Regions from separate parts of the Homo sapiens genome. Here region 1 is linked to region 2. Evidence: promoter capture Hi-C in 16 types of primary human blood cells and fetal thymus (Javierre and others, 2016). All regions are on one chromosome and are shown on one strand. Each heading gives the region's core, a stretch centred on a gene start or on the middle of the fragment in contact. The rest is flanking DNA. Distances are from core to core; before and after follow the strand shown. Region 1 holds the start of PACRGL (parkin coregulated like). Region 2 holds the start of DHX15 (DEAH-box helicase 15).

Region 1 (5,475 bases), core at 1,620-4,119, 3.9 Mb after region 2:
CTACCAGCAGATGACTTACTTCCCAGTATCACACTTCACCTCCATTCCCAGGGCCATTTTCTAATACTACGGTAATTAAAATCTCATTAAAGTTGTCAGATAATAGTCTAAAATAAGCTGAGAGAAGCTTTAAATATGTTAACCTACTATTGTACTTCTGTGATCATTCAACAAGTATTTAATATTGTGCCTGACTTCTGTTTTGAGAAGCTCCTGGAGGGGGAACAACACAAGTTTCTATTGAAAAAAAAAATGCATCAGTTTCCTCAACTCTATAATTGGGCATAATTACAGGAACTACTTTAAGTGTTGATGAAGACTAGTAAGAATATATGTAAAACAACATTTCCATAATGGGAGGCATGCAGTAAGGGCCACATGAGTCTTAGCTATTATTATAATTTTCTTTACAATGGTACAAAGTGTTCTTCAGTATTACTATTACTAATAGTGAAACCACATGTTTTGTCATTTTTAAAAAATCTGGCTTAACATCTTGGGCTACATCAATTTGAAGACCAGCTGAGGTCCAATTTCTCTTGATCATCAATTGTTAACAGCTGCAACAGATAAAAGCGATGCACAGCAAAGACGCGTACCCACAAACATAACAAGGGCACAGGCAGCCATATCAAATTATGATGCACATTTTTCAATACTACCTACCAATTCAGTGGAAGTTTTGGATGGAATTTTATGGCTAAATTTCTATCTTCCTTCACGTCAAAAAGTTGTTCCTGTAACAAACTAATGGGGAGGTGTTGCATTATATTTTGAATGAGTTCAAAAAGTCACCAAAACTCATTTGAAAAAGTTTTAAACATGGTAGAAAATCGAGCTTCTACAGTTTATGAGTATACAGGACAACTTTTATGTACAATATATAATTTTCAGCATTAAACATACAGTAATGCAAACACGTCTACATCCCCTTTCAAAATCCTGTATTAGAGAATTTCCTTCCAAAACAATTGCTTTTTCACTTAAAATTTTTATCCTTTACCTTAACGACAAATTACAGTTGGCTCTCCGTATATGCGGGTTCCACATCTATAGATTTGACCCAACCACGGATACGGAGAGCAGACTGGAGGACTTTGGCATGGGTGGATTTGGGTATCTGAAAGAGACTGGGGGGAGGGAGGGAGTCCTGGAGCCAATTCTCCACGGACACCAAGGGACGACGGGAAATGTAGTCAATTTTTTAAAATAATATCCACCTGGAAGCATGCCACTGACAAGCCTGGAGCATGAGTTGTTTGTGAAAGCAAGCTTTAAAAATCTTATCCTTGGTAACCCTTTCAAGTGGTTTTTCATTAAATAACATGTAGAGGATGGTGTAAAGGGGCAGTGATGGGGAGAAGCGAACCTGTAAGAACTATTTTGTGTTACAAATATTATCAAGGTCACCGCTCATTCTTTTACAAAACAAGATAAACATTCTAATTATAGATATTAGAATCCATAAATCCACTTAACTTCGAACACCTAAACTATGTCACAATATCAGAAAGCAAACAAACCACCCTATGAAGCCCACACATTCCCCTTAAAGCTTCCTTGGTTGCTACAGGTCATCTATCTACAAGGGACTGCCGGTATCTGTGTCAATGGTAGGAAAGTGTACTTTCTATCATTGTTTGGGCAGCTGATATAGCCTATTTCTTTCCCTGTATGTACTTTCTCCCGTACTCAGCTTTAAGACCACTGAACTAAAACAATTCTCAGTCAGCAGAGCCCTGCTTTCTAATCCAGGTCTAGAAAGTTCCAAACGTGTAAGTAAGAGCCCCACTAAAGAAACCATGTTCCATTTGTAAAGCTCTGTCAAATTCTAAAAGACCCAGAGCCCAATAGTCACTTATCCCAGTCCCTTTTTTACCAGAAAGTAAATTCAAAGGGCCAGTATTAGGGTCGCACAATCTGCTTAGGGGTCTTAGAATCTATTTTCCACCTTCCCAGCCACCCCTCCTACACTCACTTCTAGATACTTAAAGACCAGTCCAGAGCCAGGATGCTATCAAAGTCAGCAAAAGAGGAAGACACAGAAAAAAAATAAAGAAAAAACAGAGATTTTTTAAAGGGGCCGAGGGAGGAGTTTACCAGTTTCAATTAAGGTTAACGAAGGCTACTCTCGACTGACCCTCTACCCCAGGAAAGGAGGGGTACACTCCAAGCGCTCACGATCTCAAGGGTCCTTAGCAACGGGGTCCAGCGGCCCTAGCAACAGATCAGGAAGCAAGCCGGCTTGGCAGAGAGCGCAGACAGGACACCTGTACCCGCGGTTCACGGCTCCGGGGACCCGTTCCTACCGCGCCTCTCTCCCGCCGCGATCCGCACACCAGCTGCCCCCCACCGGGGGGGGCTTATGACCGGCACTCGGTCGGCCAACAACCGCGGCTACCGCCACCGAGCGCCTGCGTTTGGGGAAATGAGGCTCCGCGCGGCCCGCCCCTGAACCTGGTCGCGCCGCGCAATGACGTCAGACGCACGCTGCGTCGTCTAAACCAATGGTAAGAGGTCGCGGAGGCGCCCCAGAAGAGGGTTGCCCAGGCAACCAGGCGCCAGGAGTTCAGGGGGCAGCTCACGCACTGCAGGCGCTGTCTCTGGCGACAAAGGGGCACGTGGTGGAGGATGTTTTTCGAATAAGAGGTCCGGAGAGCAGAGGGACGATGACGGGTTCCCAGTCGCCTGCGCCCTAGCCTCTCTTCAGTCCATGTGCTTAACTCCTAAACGCTTTTCTCGCACACTTAATACTCATTGTTCCTCAGCTATCTTACCCTCAATACTCGGAGAACTGAAGACTGTGAACTCCTCCCCCCGAGTCTTCAGGGGTGAGAGCCGAAGCCATCTGCATGCCCAGCTGTGGGATTTTCTTGTAGTTTCCTGTTCTATCTGGCTAAATCATAAGCCTAGCTGTGGAAATTCGTTTCCTGTCGTATTTTATGAATCTCATATGCTATTGCATTCTTCACAGTATATCCGCATTTAAATAGTAAAAAGCACGATTTTGTGCTCTACATTATTTTTAATAGTAAAAATATTTAATAGTGAAAAGCACGATTTTATGCTCCACATCATAACAAAACTGATGCTGCAGGAAAATGCATATTCCCTTGTATTGCATTCCACCAGCAACAATTTGGGTTGTCATAGTTAAGTCCAAGCCCTTTGGACCTGTCCACTGCACTCCTCTTTAGCATCCTCTACTGTTGCCAACCCAAAGCCCTAACTTTTTGCTTAGGTAACACTAAATTGGCATTGTCTGAGCACTCGAGGCTGTGTAATCCTTCTGTGCTCCTGTAGCTCCATCCTTGCTACTTGACCAGCACCCCAGAAGCATCTTCATTAGATTGTGAGTTTCCTCAGGATAAGGATTTTAACTTTGCCCTTTTTATTTCTCCAGCTTCAAGCATAATGCAGTGGGTATTCAACTAATGTCTTCTGAATGAATAAAATGAATTAATAAATTCTGTCTATGTCTAATTTCTCTAATGTTCTGTGAACCTTGCATACAAATCTAAGTTTTAAAATTTATTATAATGTATTTACCTATCTTTCTCACTAGACTGAAATTGTCTTTATTGCTTTTCTATCCCCAATGCCTAGCGCAATGCATGCTTAACTAACGTTTTTAAAAGGAAAAAGAAATTTTTAAAAAAAAAAATCTTATATCCTGTATCTTCAGCTACTTTTACTTTATAATCTCTCATCTCCAGCTTCCTCAAGACTTATTATATTTTCCTTACTCCTAGCATCTCCAGTGTCAGACTCAGTAGAGCTCCTAGTTCGTGACCTTTTAACCCCTCCTCCCTGGACTATAAGAATGATTTGTATTCAGTATCGCAGAGGAATGACAAGCATATGTGTTCTGGAGTTAAGCTATCTAAAACTCACCACCCCTTATCAGCTATGAGTCCTTGTGGATGACGACTCCTACAAGCCTCAATTTCCTCTTCATTATTGGGTTATTGCGAGACTTAAATTTAAGAGGACAATTGAATACCTGACACATAGGAAGTACTCAATAAGTATTAGCTAGTGCAATTATTCAGGTGAAAGCAAATTAAGACTAACGTGGAGGACATCGTAAGTGGCAAAAGTCTCATGCTATGTGTTGGTGTATGAACCATGGACGATGACACGGATTTTTCAGATCTTTATAATAACAATTAGTATAAGCTTCTCCTAATCACAGTTAAAACAGCCTCTTCTAAACTTTCTGTCATCATTTTAGAAAATGAACAGAAAACATGCTCCTTGGCATTGCAACTCTATCAGGATATTATGCAATAAGTGGTGGGTGCTTTCTTGAATACACTGGTTTGACAAGCCTGTGAGGCATCCAGGGGGAGCTAACTAGCATGCTGTTGGATCTGCTCATCTAGAGGGCAGGAAAGAGAACTGGGCATAGCTATGGATTTTTGAGCCATCAGCATATGTAGACGCTGAGTTGGGCGATAGGAGTAATACCTTCTAGGAAAGCTCACAATATGTGAGAAACAGAGCACTGATTGTGGACTTTTGTCTTCTATTCAGGTTTTAAGGTTTAATTTTCTATTTAAGAGAGAATGGGATGAGGGAAAAAAGGTGACCTATTTGCCTAGCAATATAGTAAATGATTCTGAAAAGACAGAATATGCCATATATTTTCTGTTTGCTCTCATATAGGTACACTCTTCCCTTTGTCCTGTTATTTGCTCTGGGATGCTGATCAGCATAAACTATATCACCCAGGCTCCAGTGCCCTCTGGTTTCTGATTGGGTTTGGCTACTGAAGAACACTAATAGGAGATTAGAGAATTAGAGGAGAGTGAAGTCAGAGTATTCATTCTCCTGCTCCTATCCTTAGGGGGTTCCCTAAAGCTGGTCATACCCATAAGTGAAGATCACATCTTTCTGCTATAGTCTGATTGTTTCTGTTCCTCCAAAATTCATAGATTGAAATTTTAACTCCCAAGGTGATGGTATTTGGAGGTGGGGCTTTTGGGTGGCGATGAAGTCATAGGGTTGGAACACTCGTGAATGGAATTAGTGCCCTAATAATAGAGGCCTGAGAGAGAACACTCACTCCTTCCACTATGTGAGGACACAGTGAAACAATTTCATCTGTGAACCAGAAAGTAGTCCCTTACCAGACACTGAATCTGTTGATACTTCGATGTGGACTTTCCAGCCTCCAGAACCATGAGAAATCAATTTCTGTTGTTTATAAGCTACTCAATGTACGGTATTTCACTATAGCAGCCCAAATAGACTAAAAAACTTTCTAAATGGCAAACTTCAGTTCTAGGCACAAAATCTCAGAGGCTACTATCTCTAGGTTACTGCACTGTCTGTGTGGTACCCTGTACCTTTATAAATAAAATTTCTTCAAATTGCCCTATTTTTGTTACTCCATATTATATAACCTTATGAGTTAGGTAATAAATCTAACCAAAGTAAACCACTCAGGACGATTTTTTTTCTCATTGTGCT
Region 2 (5,091 bases), core at 2,026-4,525:
CCAGAGAGGTCACTATCCTTCAATAAGTAGGGCCTTTCTCTTTCCTCCTTTCCTTCTTTTCTTCCTTTCTTCTTTCCTTCCTTTCTTCCTTTCTTTCTTTCCTTCTTTCCTTCCTTTCTGTCTTTCTCTCTTTCTTTCTTTCTGATGGCGTCTTGCTCTGTTGCCCAGGCTGGAGTGCAGTGGCACAATCTTGGCTCACTGCGACCTCAACCTCCCGGGTTCAAGTGATTCTCCTGCCTCAGCCTCCTGAGTAGCTGGGATTACAGGCATGTGCCACTATGCCTGGCTCATTTTTGTATTTTTAGTAGAGACGGGGTTTCACCATGTTGGTCAGCCTGGTCTCGAACTCCTGACCTCATGATCCACCTGCCTCGGCCTCCCAAAGTGCTGGAATTACAGGTGTGAACCACCACGCCTGCCCAGGGCCTTTCTTTAATTGTTCAGGTCACAACACAACTGATGAGGTTATGGTTTTCTTTAGCTGTAACCTAGGCCCAAGGGAAAAGTCTCATCACCTTGATTTCAGTTCCTCTTTCATCATTTATGAGAGGCTGACATCTGAGTGGAGCACTTCTGCAGGTAGAATTCTAACTTTTTTCCCTGATTATTTCTCCAAAATTTTAGAGCACTTTATAGCAGTCATCAAACTGGAAACCTGAAGACTGAGATTTTAATACTTCAAGTGAAATCTGTATTTTATTCTGACTTTGATACCAACTGATTGTGTGAACTTCAATAAGACCTAGGGGTTCAGTTTCCCTCATTTGTAAAATTAAGCAAAAAGAGAAAAATCAGATGGAATCCAGTGATTATACATCATGATCTGAAAAAAGTCAACACAATTGTCCCTCAGTATCCACTAGGGATTGGTTCCAGGAGAAACTGCCGACACTAAAGTCCGTGGAGGTTCAAGTGTCTGATATAAAATAGTACAGTATTTGCATATAACCTATGCACATTCTTCTGTATACTTAATCATCACTAGATCACTTATAATACCTAATACAATGTAATTGCTATGGAAATAGCTGTTATACTGTATTGTTTAAGAAATAAGAGCAAGAAAAAGTCTGTACATGTTCAATACAGATGCAACCATCCATTTTTAAAGAAAAATATATTTTTGATTTGCAGTTGATTGAATCCAGGGATAAGGAACCCACAGATAATAGAAGGCCAACTCATCATTTTAATTTCAGTTTTTTCCTATACATATGTAATTATGATAAAGTGTAACTTATAAATTAGGCACAGTAAGATATTAACAACTAATAATAAAACATTTATAACAACATACAGACAGTCTTGACTTACAATTGTTTGACCAGATTTTTTGACTTCACGATGGGTTTATCGGTATATTAACTGCATGTTCAACTTACAACATTTTCAGTTTACGATGGCTTTGCGATGGCCATCACCCCATCATAAGTCAAGGAGAATCTATACTGTAATAGAAGCTATGTGAATGTGGTCTTTCTCTCAGAATATCTTACTGTACTGTGAAAGCAAAACCAGGGACAAAGTAGGGACTATGGTACATTTAGGATAGAAAGTTGTACTGAATATTTCACAAGTGAAAAATATACTCATTTTTCTTTGTGTTGACTTTCCAATGTGGATTTGGTACAAAAAAATAAAAACCCTCCTTACCAATTGCTGGCTGGGTGCAGTGGCTCACGCCTGTAATCCCAGCACTTTGGGAGGCCGAGGTGGGCAGATCACTTGAGGTCCGGAGTTCAAGACCAGCCTGGCCAGCATGGCGACACCTCGTCTCTACGTCTCTACTAAAAATACCAAAATTAGCCGGGCGCGTAGCCGGGCGTGGTGGCGGGCGCTTATAATCCCAGCTAGGAGGGAGGCTGAGGCAGGAGAATGGCTTAAACCCGGGAGGCGGAGGTTGCAGTGAGCTGAGATTGCACCACTGTCCTCCAGCCTGGGCGACAGAGCAAGACTGTCTCAAAACAAACACACAAACCCCTCATCAGTTGCAATATTTAAGTTGCATTTAATCCTAGCAATTGCAGTCCTGAGATTTGGATAAGAACCAGAGTATGGTCTTCCAGGGCAGCCAAACCAAGCCATTCCATGAACAACAGAGATCACCCTGCTGCAGATGGTCCACAGATCTTTTCTTGTGCATTTCTTCTGGGAACAAATGCAACTGAGGAAGCAGACATATTCTAGGGGGAGAGATCCACAAAAATCCTTAGAGTCATCTTGCCCCACCTCCTTGTTATGGCTTTAGGTACAGCCCTTATGGCTAGGAGATGTAACCTTCCTCAGCCTTTGCGTCTACGTCTACAAAATAACAACTACCTTGCAGGGTGTTATTTAACACTGCGAAAGTGCATTAATAGGCACAGAAAAACAAAAAACAAAAAAGCAAATTGTGCCCTCACTGCGAATTCTCTGTATTCTAGTTAAAAACATCTATAGCTTGGGTGCATGGTGTCCGTGCTGGGCAAGAAAAGGGCAAAATAGATCATGACAAGCCTTAACATTTTCTCACTTCAGTTTCCTCACTGCAATTGATTTTTTTTTTTCTTTCAAGTCGGAGTCTTGTTCTGTCGTCCAGGCTGGAGTGCACTGGTGTGATCTCGTCTCACCGCAACCTCCGCCTCCCAGGTTCAAGCGATTCTCCTGCCTCAGCCTACCGAGTAGCTGGGATTACAGGCGTACGCCACCACGCCCAGCTAATTTTTGTATTTTTAGTAGAGACGGGGTTTCACCGTGTTGGCCAGGCTGGTCTCGAACTCCTGACCTCGTGATCCACCCGCCTCGGTCTCCCAAAGCGTTGGGATTACAGGCGTGAACCATCGCGCGGCCCCTCACTGCAACTGAGGGTAGCGCAGTGGCCGCAAGTTCCAGATCTGGAGTTACTAAATAGCTGGGTTCCAATCCCGGCTCTGCCACTTATTAGCTGTACGATCTTCATTCGTTTCTCAACCTCTCTGGGTCTGAGATTCCCTTAAAGCCGGGGTAATAGAAATGAATAGGATTTCCTAACTAGGACTAGACTTTCTCAATTTCTTGACTCAGAGGGGCAAGGATAGCCTGAAATGGAAAGTGAAGGCCTTCAGGTTCTTCCTAACAGCCGCTCCGAGGAGGGGAAAGCTACAGGAAGAGGGAGGAGACCCAAGAAAGGTCGGACCAATGAGGCAGCGGGCGGGACAGGAGTTCCCGCCTTTGGGCGTCGTGCGCGCGCACCTCGCTCACACGCACACTCGCACGCACGCACGCTGCGGAAGCGCGCGCGCGCGCAGGCCCAGCCCTCGTCGCCGCCGCCATTTTAGCTGTTGGTTCCGGCCGCACCGTGTGGGCTGTAGTAGCGGGAGGGGTGGGGGTCCTCCAGAGTTAAGTGGCTGTCCTCGACTGTGCCCATACAGCAGCCAGCTTTCTTCCTTAATAACTGCCCGTTCGAAGAGTGCGAGGATGTCCAAGCGGCACCGGTTGGACCTAGGGGAGGATTACCCCTCTGGCAAGAAGCGTGCGGGGACCGATGGGTAAGCCAGGCCGGGGGCGCGAGGCGGCAGCTCGGGCTTTGTTGGGGTCCTGGCAGGGAGCGGGCCGGGGCTGGCCTGGCCGAGCGGGTCCTGGAGCCCGAGCCTTTGTTTCTCTCTGGGCTGGGTTCACTAGCGGCGGGTAGGAGAAGCGCGGCGCCCGTTCGGCCCGGCAAGGGCGCGGGGGGTTGCGTGCGACGGGGCCGCTGCCCAGCCCAGTCCGGAGGGTGGAGAGGCCTGCAGTAGCCATGAGGGCGCCTCCTCCCCCAGGCCGAACCGAGCGGGAGTCATTTGCGAGGGCGTCGGGCGGGAGTGAACCGCGGACCTCGTGGCCTCGGTTCCCGAGGAAGGCCTGGAGCCGGAGGAGAGGGTGGGGGAGGGCGCGGTGGGAGTATTCGCTTCCAAGGGCAGCAGGCACTTCCCAGCCAGAGGGGCCGTGGGGAGGGCCTGGGTGGGGGCGCGGCCAGGCACTCCAGACGGGAAAGGCGGAGGGCGGAAAGTGAGAGCAGCGCGTGGATCATAATGTAGGCTGGGATGGGGGTGGCGGGAGTTGAGAGAAGCCAGCAAATAGGGAGTTCTCGGGGGAGGTGGGAGTAGAGGACCTGCCGGGAGAAAGGAAAACGTGGAGTAATATACCTGATGGGCTGGAAGGCTGGTGTTTTGGGGCGACTGAGTTTATAGTTTGGCGGGAGAGAGCGTGCCTTGGTCCATTCAAACACTTCAAAGTAGATACTAGCAAACTTCCGCTCTCTGCCTACGCTCCCGCCATCTCCTGTATTTCCTGCTTTGGTTAAAACTGGTTACTGAACATCGTCCCATGGGGAGGGATTAGAAGGCATTGTTTTTTTTTTTCATCATTTATTTTCTATGCATGTCCCACTTTTCTTCATAAGTAGCTTTTGAAATACAGGGATCATGTTCAAAACGTGTTTTTAGTATTTATGGCGAAACACCGCCCATGTGGAGGTTGAGAGTTGAAATACTTACACAAACTCTTGGTGTTCCAGATTCCTTTCCTTAAAGGTACAGAGGAATTTAGCAGTTAATTTAAGCAATTTCGTGAAAATCATTTCTTGTCCCTTGTGTGTTTTCATTGATGAAGTACAAAGACCTGTTTGGATAATTCAGGCAAAACCCACAAAAGCCCGAGTAGCCAAATACTTTGCATAATTGTATCATTTTATTGTGTACTTGTGATACAGAATCACTGTGTCAAGTCACCTGTATAGCTGTTTTGAATTTTTCAGCTAAAGTTCTTCATTGAAATTGATTTCCAGGGATATGTTTAGTGTCATTGTAGAGTATAAGCCAGGATAGGGTGTACTTTTTGAGGCTTTGCCATATGTTGAATTATTCAATAGAAAGCAAAAGCATGTCACATTTTAATTTTGTGAGTTATTTAGTTTACGATATTAGGCATTGTAAAAAAGACAATGACATTGTAAGACAGACTCTCTTTAGGCTATCACCCTCCCCCACCATTACGCCCCACAAAACGTTAATACCTCTGAGCTGTATGTCACAGACTCAGAGCTGGAAGCAACTTAAAAAAGACTATACGCGGCTCCAATCAAGGAATGAGAAGTGG

Evidence for each region. Contacts are between HindIII fragments. The CHiCAGO score rates a contact against its expected background, and 5 or more counts as called.
Region 1: a contact is called between a fragment that was not itself captured here and the fragment with the promoter of DHX15 in region 2, in 1 of 17 cell types (total B cells). The highest score is 5.7, in total B cells.

Annotation. Positions count from the first base shown.
Region 1 is chr4:20,697,413-20,702,887 of GRCh38, reverse strand. PACRGL (parkin coregulated like) reads right to left here and starts at 2,430. Exons shown (of 9, transcript NM_001258345.3): 1 at 2,101-2,430. RefSeq lists an enhancer at 2,198-2,317. The HindIII fragment of the contact is 2,624 bases long and covers 1,558-4,181 here.
Region 2 is chr4:24,582,738-24,587,828 of GRCh38, reverse strand. It overlaps DHX15 (DEAH-box helicase 15), which reads left to right and starts at 3,275. Exons shown (of 14, transcript NM_001358.3): 1 at 3,275-3,506. The coding sequence starts at 3,436. RefSeq lists an enhancer at 2,837-3,376 and silencers at 3,557-3,676, 3,687-3,766, 3,967-4,016. The HindIII fragment of the contact is 7,218 bases long and covers 1-5,091 here.